2 separate regions of the Homo sapiens genome follow, and region 2 is linked to region 1. Evidence: promoter capture Hi-C in human tissues and cell types (Jung and others, 2019). All regions are on one chromosome and are shown on one strand. The core of a region is centred on a gene start or on the middle of the fragment in contact, and the rest is flanking DNA. Distances in the headings are between cores, read along the strand shown. Region 1 overlaps NCSTN (nicastrin). Region 2 holds the start of KCNJ10 (potassium inwardly rectifying channel subfamily J member 10).

Region 1 (6,478 bases), core at 2,925-5,424:
AGGGTAATGGAATAAGGGGCAGAGGGAGAGTGGAACCAGGCCAGGGAATGTTAGAGAGACTGTAATAGGGAAGGAGTAGACACCATGAAGGAGCTCTGCATGGGAGAACTAGAAACAATTCTGAAAAATTTAGGCAGCTTGTTCCTAAAGTGGATAGTGGCAGAGAAGCCAACCTCGGACTGTTGGAAGTAGAGAAAACGACTTAGAGTCCGTGGGGCACTGGTCAGAGATTTCCAATGTTGCCTTTATAGCTACCTTCTCCTTTAGCCTTGTTGATCTCTCATTGTTTGTGTCCTGCTTAGAAATCGTCTGTGACCCCCTGTCTGATTACAATGTGTGGAGCATGCTAAAGCCTATAAATACAACTGGGACATTAAAGCCTGACGACAGGGTTGTGGTTGCTGCCACCCGGGTGAGTGTTGGCTTCTGATCAGGATGGGCAGGGCTGGCACAAAAAGAGCTGGTAGGCCCCGCTCTAGCATATCAGATTTCAAAGTTGCTAAATTGGGAAGCCTCAAATGGGGAGGAATCTGGGCTGTGGGACTCCTGGGTTGTCTCCATTGCCACAGGACAGGTATATTCTCTTGACTGGAGCAAGAAAGGAGGTTTGGGGCCAGTTTTAAAGTATATATCCCCTGACTTTTCTTCTGTTGTACCTAGCTGGATAGTCGTTCCTTTTTCTGGAATGTGGCCCCAGGGGCTGAAAGCGCAGTGGCTTCCTTTGTCACCCAGCTGGCTGCTGCTGAAGCTTTGCAAAAGGCACCTGATGTGACCACCCTGCCCCGCAATGTCATGTTTGTCTTCTTTCAAGGGGTAAGGGCTCTTTGGCTGGGGTGCAATGGCAGGGAAGAAAGAGGATAGTAAAGATGAGAGTGGCTACTGGTTGGAGAAGACCTCAGCACTTGACCTAAGTTGTTAACCAGCACAGAGCTTCTGGATGTGTCTACATGTGTCTCCCCTTTAGATTCCTCCATTTTAGGAAGCTTAGATTCCTTCTTTTTAGGAAGCTTTTACACCCTGAATTGGTATGTAACCAGCCCCCTCTTTCCCCCACTGATAAGATATATTGGAGGCGGCCTTTTACTTTTATTCTCTGGACTCCTTTACTGCTATCTCCATCCAGGAGCCGTTAGGCTCCTGACTCTCATCACTAGGACCACAGCAGAATAAGGGAACAGCATCTGTGGCTGAGTCACTGGAGGTGGGGGACCGTTAAGAATCAGACACATAATAGCTGATGTTCATCTTAGACCTTTACTAAGGCTACTTTCCCCATTTCTGGGCTTCAGAAGTCTTGTAATACATATGAGGGATAGTCACAGCTGGGAGGTGGGGCCAAGAGAAGCCGAAAGTCACATGACTGTAAGCTGACTAGCAGTTGAGGTGACCTGAGATAGTCGTCTTACCTACAGCTTTGATGATCTGGCCGCCTTCGAGGCTCTCCTAACCCTTTGGAATCTCTGTTCCCCCTCCCACCTACCTCCATCTCTCAGGAAACTTTTGACTACATTGGCAGCTCGAGGATGGTCTACGATATGGAGAAGGGCAAGTTTCCCGTGCAGTTAGAGAATGTTGACTCATTTGTGGAGCTGGGACAGGTATGTGGCATGTCCCCCAGCCCCTTCCTTTTTAATTAAATCTTCCTCCTTTGTTGTTCTGCGGTCTTAACTGCAGGAACCACCGCCTCTTCCCTTGACTTCTATCCCCTAGGCATGGCCCAGAACAGGAGACTGATTCTAAGTGTTGTTTCTTCATCCTCCCCCCAGGTGGCCTTAAGAACTTCATTAGAGCTTTGGATGCACACAGATCCTGTTTCTCAGAAAAATGAGTCTGTACGGAACCAGGTAACCTGAGCATCTCCCCTCATTTCCTATTCCTACAGCTCAGAATCCAGACCCCAACCCCTGCCCTGTTTCCACCAACCCCCAGGGCCTGTGAGACAGGGTAAGAGACAGGATTGGATTGGGTGTTGGCCAAAGGATGAACACCACAGCTGTTGTTGCTGCTGGGAAGAATCAGGAACTCAGTGACATTCCATTGGTTCCCTGGACTGGGTAGTTCTCTGATCATTTGTTGCCTAGCAGACTACCACTGCCCATTAAGGATAGGTGAGTGACTAGCTCCCTTCTTGCCTTGCTGCCCCATGGATCCAATTGTCAAGGCTGCTCTACCCAAGTCCTGGCTGTGTCACACTCGCTGCCCAACTTGTCCTCCACTTTCCTCATTGCTTGTTCAAAACCTTCCCTTCCCTCTAGGTCCACCTTTAGGCCTGCTTTTTTCCAGGTGGTCCTCTTTCTGCAATTCCAGCCTTCAGCATCATCCCTGCTCTGGACTCCTGTAGCATTTAAAGAATTGGTTATCTGTTTGGCATTCAGCACGCAGTTTTCTATTATTATTTGCTCCCTTCAATTCTGCACAATAAATAATAAGTGAAGCATCCACTGAGGATAAAGCAGAGTCTTGAAGACAGTAGAATTTACTTATAAATATGAAAAAAAAGGTCTCTTCTTTATGCCCCAATTTTCTAACTCTAAAAAGAATGGTGGAAGCTACAGGAAATTCAGAGAGCCTTGGTCCCAAAAGGCTTGAGGGATAAAGGTCTACTAGAGATAGGGTAGCTCCCCAAGCAGGGAACTTGAAGTATAGAGCATTTCAGGCCTAAAAGAGACCTCCTGCTTCCCATCCCCCAGCCTCCCATCAGTTAATCTCCCTCGTACCCCCCAGGTGGAGGATCTCCTGGCCACATTGGAGAAGAGTGGTGCTGGTGTCCCTGCTGTCATCCTCAGGAGGCCAAATCAGTCCCAGCCTCTCCCACCATCTTCCCTGCAGCGATTTCTTCGAGCTCGAAACATCTCTGGCGTTGTTCTGGCTGACCACTCTGGTGCCTTCCATAACAAGTAAGAATCACTTGGCCCTGCACCCTCTTCATTCTTGAAGAGAGTCTATTCTGCAGTCTGGGAGGAAGGTCACTGCCCTCCGCTTTCCCACACTACCCCCTCCAGAACTTCAGGTCCATCTGTATTCTTTGCTCAGTGGCGTTTTCACATCTGAACTGAAACCCTTATTTGTTTGACTGGATATTCATCTTAGAAACTCATCCTCACCCTTAGCCCTTTACTGTCAACAATCCTTGGTTATGGTTCCACTGCTCCCTAGCTCTCCAGGGTCCTGAGTTCCTCAGGGTTGCCAGCAGAGGGCATCATCTCAAACACAAGCATGGGAAGGATGGTGGGGGCCCTTTGGCTAGAAGACAGAAAGCAGTCCTTCTCTGGAACTCACCCAGAGGTGCCAGAAACAGTATTCATACTCTGTGAAATGTACCATGTTCTTGCCATGTGGTAGATGGCCATGGTTCAGTGCGAGGGTAAAAGTGCCTCCTATAGCTGATGGGGCTCCAGAGATACAAAGGGTAACTCTGGGTTACCCTTTAACTGCTCCTAACTTGAGGCCTTGGATAACAGGGGACTTCTTACTCAGGCTGGATTGCCAAGCTTCCCGAGGGCCAAATGAGTTTCGTAGTGAAAATGCTTGAGCTCTATTTCTGACCCCAGCCAAGTAGCACCTTCTCATTCATTTAGGGGAGTGACCGTCCTAGCACTTAGGGTCAGCTGTCTTCTCTAAAGCTATCCTTGTACCACTTTGGGGCAAGTGAAGATTCATCATTTGAACACATTTTGGATTTGATTATGTAGCTGACTTGACTTTGTGTGGGACAGGGATTTACTGATGGTAAAGACTGTGGAGCTCAGCCTCTCTTTTAAGATCTATCTCCTTGGGGCTCCATAAGGATCATCATGGTGATTTTATCAGTGTATTCTTATATATCAGTGAGCAGACCTGATCCTAAGACCTGCTAATCACCTCCTGCTCCCAGCTACCCTAAATATAAATGTTCATTGGAACAGTTATACAACTGATCTCATGATACATGGCAGAGTTCTCTGAAAATCATCTTAGCCATCCCCCATATCTCCAGCCCAAATGATGTAGAAGAGTCTCTCCTTTGTTTAAAGATCTGAGCTCATTCAGCTTTTCTACCTTGTCTGTCAGGAAAGTCTTTAATTTTCACTAACCACCTCACCCTCACTCCTACCTCCCTGTTCTCCACACCTTCTGCAATATGGGATCCTGATTGTCTCTCACCCCTTTCTTCTGATGCTGAAAATGAGATACTGAGTCCCTGCATAAGGAGCATTTGAGGGAGGAAAGGGGCAGAGCCCTGGCTAAATGTAGCCAAGGCTCATGCCGGCTTTCCTGGCAGATATTACCAGAGTATTTACGACACTGCTGAGAACATTAATGTGAGCTATCCCGAATGGCTGAGCCCTGAAGAGGACCTGAACTTTGTAACAGACACTGCCAAGGTAGCACTGAGCCAGGCTGGGTGGGAGCCTGGGGCACACAGTGAAGATGCTAGCATTTGAGGATAGGAGAGGTGGGCCATTCAGCCCCCTCCTCACCTACCACAGGCCCTGGCAGATGTGGCCACGGTGCTGGGACGTGCTCTGTATGAGCTTGCAGGAGGAACCAACTTCAGCGACACAGTTCAGGCTGATCCCCAAACGGTAAGCAGATGGGCCCTAGCTCCTTCTTTCTATTTACACAGCAAGCTGTCCCTATCCTCCCTTGCCCTAGTGTCCCAAACCTTGGAATTCCACATGACTGTTGATGCCGGTGAGAATGCCTCATGCCCCAGAGAGCTCTTGGGTGGGCCTCATCTGCATCTTATGAGCCAGCTACTGTCTCCCAACTCCAGTCTATCTGGCCAGTCTGGTTCCTGCCCCATGACTGGGTCTCCACTGATAATTCTTTCCCTGGGCTCCCTTCAAGTCACAGGGTTTTCTCTCTTTACTGTTCCAATCCTAGGTTACCCGCCTGCTCTATGGGTTCCTGATTAAAGCCAACAACTCATGGTTCCAGTCTATCCTCAGGCAGGACCTAAGGTCCTACTTGGGTAAGCATCTGGTGTGGGAATGGGACCCTTAGCTGAGGAAAGGGATAGAGAAAAAGTCTTTTGGTTTAACCTTTATTATTTTTTTTCTTTTTCCTCTCTGTTTTTCTTACCCCCTGTTTTCCTTTCTTTCTTCTCATATTTGATGGATCCTTTTCCATTGCCCTTCTTTCTGGCTGCTGCCAATCTTGGGCTTTTCCTATTTCACCCACCATCCACCCACCAAATCTTCCCTTCCCTTTGGTCTGCACTCAGGTGACGGGCCTCTTCAACATTACATCGCTGTCTCCAGCCCCACCAACACCACTTATGTTGTACAGTATGCCTTGGCAAATTTGACTGGCACAGTGGTCAACCTCACCCGAGAGCAGTGCCAGGATCCAAGTAAAGTCCCAAGTGAAAACAAGGATGTGAGTGGTGGTGGGTGTTGGAAGTGCCCTGGGGCCCCTTTCCCTTGGGAAAGTTGGAGGTTCTTCTAGACCTAGTTAGACCCAGGGGATTGGGATGGAGAGGTGGAGAGATGCAGTCCTCAGCAATTGGGTGTTGAAAAGCCTGGGTGAAAATGGACCATCTGAAGGGTAAAGGGACAGCAGCCAGTTAGCTCAATTGGTTAGAGCATGGCACTGATAGAGGGTAGAGGGAACGAGTGAGAAGAGGATCACCCTAGCCGTGTGTTGTGGCGCATCTTCTGTGCAGCTGTATGAGTACTCATGGGTCCAGGGCCCTTTGCATTCTAATGAGACGGACCGACTCCCCCGGTGTGTGCGTTCTACTGCACGATTAGCCAGGGCCTTGTCTCCTGCCTTTGAACTGAGTCAGTGGAGCTCTACTGAATACTCTACATGGACTGAGAGCCGCTGGAAAGATATCCGTGCCCGGATATTTCTCATCGCCAGCAAAGAGCTTGAGGTGAGATGGGGCAGGGGCATAGGTGGCAGGGATCTGTTTGACTTCTTTCTCTGCTTTCTTGTGTCATATAGCCCTTTCCATCTCCCATTTGCCCCACATTTGTAGCAAAAGCCTACTGCAAATCTGTCCCTGGTCAGCCAGCATGTTCCCTTAGGAGGCCTTTTTTTTGAGATGGAGTTTCATTCTTGTTGCTCAAGCTGGAGTGCAATGGCACAATCTCAGCTTACTGCAACCTCCGTCCCTTGGGTTTAAGCAGTTCTCCTGCCTCAGCCTTTCGAGTAGCTGGGATTACAGGCATGTGTCACCACACCCAGCTAATTTTTTTTTATTTTTAGTAGAGATGGGTTTCACCATGTTGGTCAGGCTAGTCTTAAACTCCTGACCTCAGGTGATCCACCTTTCTTGGCCTCCCAAAGTGCTGGGATTATAGGCGTGAGCCACTGCACCCGGCCAGGAGGCCTTTCTTCACAGATAGTTTGAGTAGGTGTTCATTCTGGAGAGCCCCTGTGGATCCCAGAACTCTTTCACAGCTTCAACTCCCGGCTGGCATTCCCCATCTGGCACAGCTGGGATGAGTCAGTCTAATGTACCGAGCTCCTGTCACAAGTCAGTAATGTA
Region 2 (6,494 bases), core at 2,789-5,288, 290 kb before region 1:
AGTCTTTGGCTGAAAGAGAAGTTGCTGAGAATGGGGAAAGAGACTATTTGGTGAAAGCTCAACCACTCAGTTCTCATTTATTGAATCTGAAGACAGGACATCTGCTTGGCAAAAACTTGTGGAAAGCAGGGGCTGTGGGTGTGGAGACCCCACCTCAAGTGATGCCCAGCCTATTGGAATCAAGGAAGGAAATGCATCTTAAACTGCTTGATAATTCTTCTACCTTCCCAAACTCCAGAAGGGTGGGAAGAAAAAACCTAGGACAGAATCTCAAAACAAAACAAAGCAAAACCCACAAAGAAGGGCTGGGACAAAGCCCAGGAACAAGGAAAGATGACACAGTAGAAAACATTAGAGTGGTGGGAGAAAAGCAATGGCCCACAACTCCACTTTTTACAGACTAAGGACCATTCCAAGCCCCTTACGGTAGTCACTGTGCATCCTCACAGCAGTTATGAGCCCTATTGTGAGGATGGGACTTCCTTAGCTACTAAGTGGTAAACCAGGACCGAATCCCACAAAGTCAGACTCCAAGGCCATGCTCTTAACCATAGTGCCTGCTGTCTCTCAGAGCGGAAAGTAGCCCTGGAACAGCAAGAGAGAGGTGCAGCAGCCACCCAGGGGAGGCCCCTGACAGTTGTCACAATAATCCCTGCACTCTGAGCTCCATCACTCCTCTCGGAAGCTTTAAGGATGGGCTTCTGTGTTTGGGGATTTTGTTGGTGGTTTTTGTTTTGTTTTGGTTGGTTTTTTTGGTCCAGAAAGTGGTCTCTCTTTCCTTCCCAGTCTCCATTTCAAATGTCTTTCCTTTTCTAGGATGTGCTTCCTGAGATCTAACCTAAGTCCTTCTAGCTGCAGCCACAATCCTTTCCCCAGGTGTTGTGCCATCGGAAAAGTTGCACAATGGCCATGTATACCCTTTCTGTGCTGCACCTTGTTGGAGGCTTGAGGTCTGATTCAGTCCTCTTCTAGCTCCTGCTTCTCCAACCTCCTTCTCCATGCCACAAAGTTCTGTTCTTACTTCTCTCTCACATTCCAGAGCCAGCCCCTCCCTTCCCCCACCACCTCAAATCCAGGCTCCAAGCTGGCAAACACCCACGGGAGGGCATTTCCCACAATCCCTTTCTCTTTGCCCTTTCAAGGTTCTGATGGGGGAGGGGAGGAAGAGGGGCCACCAGATGCACTCTCTCCCTAAAGAATGGTGGCAAACATGTAGGCTAAACTCAAATGAGGGAAGAAAAGCATTGAACTCAGCCTGCTGGAGAGACCGAAGTGACATGGCAAACTCCCATTCCCAGGAGCTGCCCAGCCAACCACCCACCATTGGGTGCTAAAACACTTAGATTTTAAATCTCCCTTTCCTCTCCAATCTTTCTGTAGTTTCATCTCAACGATGTGCCTTGGCTGATTCCTTCTCTGCCCCCTTCCAGGGCCCCACTGCTATCCTGGACAGCTTGGCCTCAGCCTGGACAGTAGCACTGACCAGTCAGGCAAGAGAAGAATCTAGGCCGAGGAGGGGAGGGAGAGTGGAGGTTTTTTTCTTCCGTCCTAAATAACCTGTGGCTGGAAAGCTTAGGGACTCCATTGCCCAATGTCTCTTTTCCTCCCCACCAATGCCAGGAGGCTCGGCCTATCTTTCCATCTTGTGTGCAGAAACCAAGAGTTTTACCAGGAGGCTCAGGAGTATCCTTTGAGGAAACAGATCTTTCTGCATGACCCACCCCCTAGAGCTTTAAACCCCCTATCCTGCCAATCACAGAATGACTCCAGAGGACTTCATCTGAGCCCACCGTGATCCAAGTGTCCCAGCCTCTCTGGTCCCAAGGAAGGTCAAGGGAAGGAAGGTCCCCGGGTCCTCTGCCAGTCACTTCCTTGTAGCTCAAGCCAACCAAGCTGGAGCTGTAAATGAGCTTATGCACAGTGATGCAGGTGGGAGGGAGCTAGAATGTGGTTCAATGGGGCACACGGAGGAGGTAGGGGATACCAGCGGGCAGATCATTAATCCCCTCACACAAACATATGCACCCATAGACTGGATGTGGGTCAGATGTTGGGGAAGATGGATTTATTTTTTCCTCAGGGTAAGGGATAGCAGAGGGGTTCTGCATTAGAGCCACAGAGGGGCTGGAACCATAACCCTGCTACCCCTGCCACTCCCACTCCCCACCCACCCTCCATCGGTGGAGTCATTGCCATTTGATATCCGCTGAGACAACTTGGCTGCTCAGGCTCTGAGTGGGGGGTGGGGGGATGGCTCAGAAAACAGCAGCTCCTTTCAGGACCCAGGTTGGCAAGGGCTTTGGGAGGCTGGACCAGCCCAGATCACCCCCCAACACCCTCTCCCTCCCTTCCTCCCTTGCCACCACCACCAAAGGACTGGGGGAAGGCAGCGGGGAAAGGAGTTGGCACTGCCTGGGCCGTGCCTATTGCCTCCACAATCCAGCCCTGGACCCTCTCCCTGGCATGATGCCTTCCATCCCCCTCCTCCCTCGTTTCTTCCTCCCTGAAGAACCAGCTATGAGTCAGGATGCCTGGTTCCTTCCAAACTTGGTCCCCTATACCCAGTCTACCCCCAGAGAAATTTACAAGCCCTACCACTTGGCACAGGATGGTACCCACCATCATGCCAGGAATATGTTCAAAAATCCTTGGAGATTAGGGAGAGAGTTTCAGGATGAAACTAAATTGAACTCACTGGTGGCTGCCCACCCCTCCTGGGGCTAATTTCATGACAACCACTCCAGGCCCTCCTCAGCACCCTTAAACAAGGCCATCTCTCACATGGGGGCCCTAAATCTCCTGTCATTATCTCCCTCCCACCCAGGCAGCCTAAAGCAGTCCCAGTGGGGAGAAAAAAAATTCAAACACCACAGCAAGAGCAGACTGGCCAGACATCTTTAGTCAGAATTTGTATTGGTAAGCAACAGAAGCAGGCTTTAAGCACTGGCCTCTTTGGGGTCCAAATCTGCACCAGCTTCTTCCCCATCTGCCTCACCCTGCCTGGGGCACTCACTGGAATTAAACTTCAAGACACCAGAACCCACCCTCACTTTTTCCCAGTGTTGTCCTTCTACCCATTCCTGGGTTCAGCTCTCCTCCCCCAAATCAGGAAGTTCCATCCTTCATCTGTTCCCTAACACAGGTGCCCTGGGTTAGTTCTGATGAGAGGAGGAATGGAATGGGAAGGGGCGTCTCCATCTGGAGGGTGAGTTTATAGAACCCAATCTGCCCTTCTCACTCTAGCAGAAGTGGCCCTGCTCCTTTCCTTCTGGAAATCCCAGTGCGAAACAGCTGGGGTGAGGGTGAGGGGCCATGAGGAGGGATGTCTTAAAATGGGAGCCACTCAGAATAGAAGGAAGAGATTGGGTGGGCAGGGGTCTGGAGCACACCAGGCTTTGGTGGCTCCCCGGTTTAAGCTGCCAGTATCTGTTTTTCTCCCCATGTGGGAACTAGCGATCATGGGTGTCACTATGTGATTGTCACTGTATGGGGAGTGGGGGAGGGGCTGGGGATGGGAGTAACCTGTCCATATGGGGAGGAGGGCGCACTGTCTGTTGTGCCTGTGTATGGGGTGCCTGGTTATGTGTGGTTGTCACTGTATTAACTAGAGGAGCAGGGATGCAACTGCTGGTCTGCCCAGTGGGAGGGGGCATCGGGAAAGCCCCTTCCTTAGATGAAAGGGCTGAGGTGACCAGCCTGGCTAGTTTCCTCGTGGGGAGCCCTTCCCAGGAGGCTCCATTTGGGACTGCCCAAGGCGGGAGGCAGGGGAACAAGACGGTGGTACCGCTGAGGCCAGGCAGGGTAGGGACTGAGGATCTGGGACCCCGATGTCTCTGGAGAGTTAGGGGGACAGGACCCGGCCGGGGCGGCAGAACTCCTTCATCAGGGCCAGGGTCTTACCTTGGGTCCGAGGTGGAGTGGCCCCTTGGATGGGCCGCGGGGCAGCGGGACAGATGGACGGACGGGGCGGGCAGGAGTTAGGAGCAGAGCTGTGCGACGGGCCGGGCCAGGACTCTTAAACCCGGAGCTGGGATCAGATAAGGGCTTGTCCGGGGGCCGGGGCCGGGGTCGGGCCGGCCGGGGGCAGAGCTGGGCCGGGCCGGGCCGCCCCCTCCCTCCGCAGCGCCGGAGCCAAACTTTGTGTGAATGGAGGGGCCCGGAGGGGGGCCGGGCAGGCGGGGGCGGGGGGCTCCGAACAGACCAATGGGAGAGTGGAGCGCCAGGCTCGAGCCGCCGAGATTGGAGGGTCTTGGGCAGGGGGCGGGGCGTGCGGGGCAAGGAAGCGGAGACCCAGACAGCTGCAGGCGCAGAGAGAAATATCCAAAGACAGAGACCCAGACAGACCCGGGGAGAAAGAGAGATGAAGAGACGATATGCGAAACGATAGGAGCTGAGCTGGCAGGGTGACAGGGGAAGGGAGAAGGAAGAAAAGGGAGGCGGTCCTGTCAGCGATGGGTTACGAGAGCTGGAGCCGGGGGGCGGGACTGGGACCGAGTTAACGAAGTGGAAATGAATTCAGGACCGGCCCAGTGGCCCTGCAGGCAGCGCCGAAGGCGGCGCCTGGAAGTGAGATTGGGGCGGAGTAGGCCTGGGCTCCCTGAGCCACAGGACTGTATCTTTGGGCACAATTCCCGTGTTGTTCACCGTCTCCTAAGTCCCCGGTGCGGTGCTGGGTGAGAGACGCGCAGCACACGGTGCCCACCTGCAGCGGCTTTCTCTGTAAGGAAAGATAAGGCCGGAACCCTCAGCGAAGTGCGGGAGGTACTGAAGGCTGTAAAAGGGAGAGGTCATTCTACTCAGAGGGCTCCTAGCAGATGTGGGAGGAAAGAGGTAACATCTGATTAGGGTCCCAAAGGAAGCAGAAGATTCAGGTGCTGAGAGATGGTCCCCAGGACTCTGTTGCATTTAAGGCAGAGGGAACAACGTAGCAGAGTCCTGGGGAGACGTGAAAATACAAGTTCACTTGGGAAACAGCATCAAACTGTCCCATTTACTAGATTAGAGTGCAGGGTGATGGTTCTCAACCCTTTCATCACCAAAGATTTCTTTAATTTTCTGAATCTATGTGTTGAGAGGTTTTAATTCACCCCCACCCCCAGCATTTATTTAAAAAGAATATAATTATTTCCTCATTTCTGATCATCATAAACATTTAACTGCTAATCAATAACCAGTGTTACCATATTGAATTGCTATAAATTCAGGTAAAAAAAGGAAAGAAACTAGGAATGTAGCTTAGTTTAACCACTAAAAGCCATAAGATAAGTAAATGTCCATTCAAATAGCCTCATTGGAGAAGCTGGAAGGACGGGACTAAAGGTTAGGCACCATAGGCAGTGTTTGTGTTAAGGGGAACATCCGGAAGAAACACAGAGTTGTGCTGATTTGTGGTCAGGCCAGAGTTTCTGTAGGCTACGGAGAGCAATTGAAGGTTCTTGGGAAGGATGGAGTAGGAGAAAGCTATGGCATTTTAGGAAAATTAATCGGGAGGTGACAAAATAGTTTGAACCAAGTGGATATAGTAGGCAAGTAGACGATAGAAAATAATTGCAATAATATAAGCATGAAGAGATGACAGCCCAAATCAGCGTGGCAATGGTGAAAAGTGGAACACAGAAAATGAATTGGAGTACAGAAAAATCAAAAGAAAATGAAAAAAGTTTGAAGCCAACTTGACATGTTGAGCAAAAGAGGGAAGCTTCAGAGATCATACTAGAGTCTCAAGTCAGGTGATCAGAACTGCGAGGTCATTCACGGGCATAGGGGAGCCTGGGGGGGATCACACCTGGTGAGGAGACTGAGGTGGGGGAAGAGGAAGTGATGAGTTCAGAGCTGGAAGCTGTGGAGAGGGGTCAGAACCAGAGAGAGAAAGGAGGTCATTGCTGCCAGGGCAGTGTGAGTTGAAGCTATGAGAACAGGGTAGATCCCAACAAAGACTGCACAGAGAAATGAGAGCCTGGCACAGAGAGTGAGGAACACCTATGTTTAGGGGATGGGAAGAAGAAGGACCCCCAAAGAGTGAAAGAGAATCCACCAGACAGGCAGGAAGGAGACAAAGAAAGTGAGATGTCATGGAGCTAAGGAAGGAGAGACTGTTAAGGAGGAGGTTCTAACAGTGCCAACAAGTACAGAGAGAAGAGGCATTGGGTTTGGCAGTGACAAAGTCTCTAGTGACATTTGAGAGCAATTTCAGAAGAGTGAGCAAGGTGGGAACCAGATTACAAGTTACCACTAGAAAGTGAGAAACTGTCAGCAAGTATAGGTTACACTTTTGAGAACTCTACTCATAGAGAGGAGAGAAATAGAAACCAGACAATGTACTAGAAACAGGCCAGGCCAGGTGGCTCATGCCTGTAATCCCAGCACTTTGGGAGGCCAAGGTGGGTGGATCACCTGAGGTCAGGAGTTTGAGACCAGCCTGGCCAACATGGCAAAAACCCATCTCTACTAAAAATACAAAAATTAGCCGGGCCTGGTGGCACGCGCCTGTAATC

Evidence for each region. Contacts are between HindIII fragments. The study calls those that stand out against the background at their distance.
Region 2: the fragment with the promoter of KCNJ10 here is called in contact with a fragment that was not itself captured in region 1 in 1 of the 25 tissues and cell types used here (lymphoblastoid cells).

What each region holds. Positions count from the first base shown.
Region 1 is chr1:160,351,394-160,357,871 of GRCh38, forward strand. It overlaps NCSTN (nicastrin), which reads left to right. Exons shown (of 17, transcript NM_015331.3): 7 at 303-412; 8 at 661-813; 9 at 1,494-1,598; 10 at 1,767-1,844; 11 at 2,725-2,897; 12 at 4,262-4,364; 13 at 4,470-4,565; 14 at 4,867-4,954; 15 at 5,207-5,361; 16 at 5,648-5,860. Among named protein-coding and RNA genes, the nearest start is that of NCSTN, 11 kb to the left of the region's middle. The HindIII fragment of the contact is 8,042 bases long and covers 154-6,478 here.
Region 2 is chr1:160,066,122-160,072,615 of GRCh38, forward strand. It overlaps KCNJ10 (potassium inwardly rectifying channel subfamily J member 10), which reads right to left and starts at 4,039. Exons shown (of 2, transcript NM_002241.5): 1 at 3,901-4,039. RefSeq lists enhancers at 3,421-3,590, 5,768-6,127, a cis regulatory region at 3,506 and a silencer at 4,001-4,230. The HindIII fragment of the contact is 5,259 bases long and covers 1,129-6,387 here.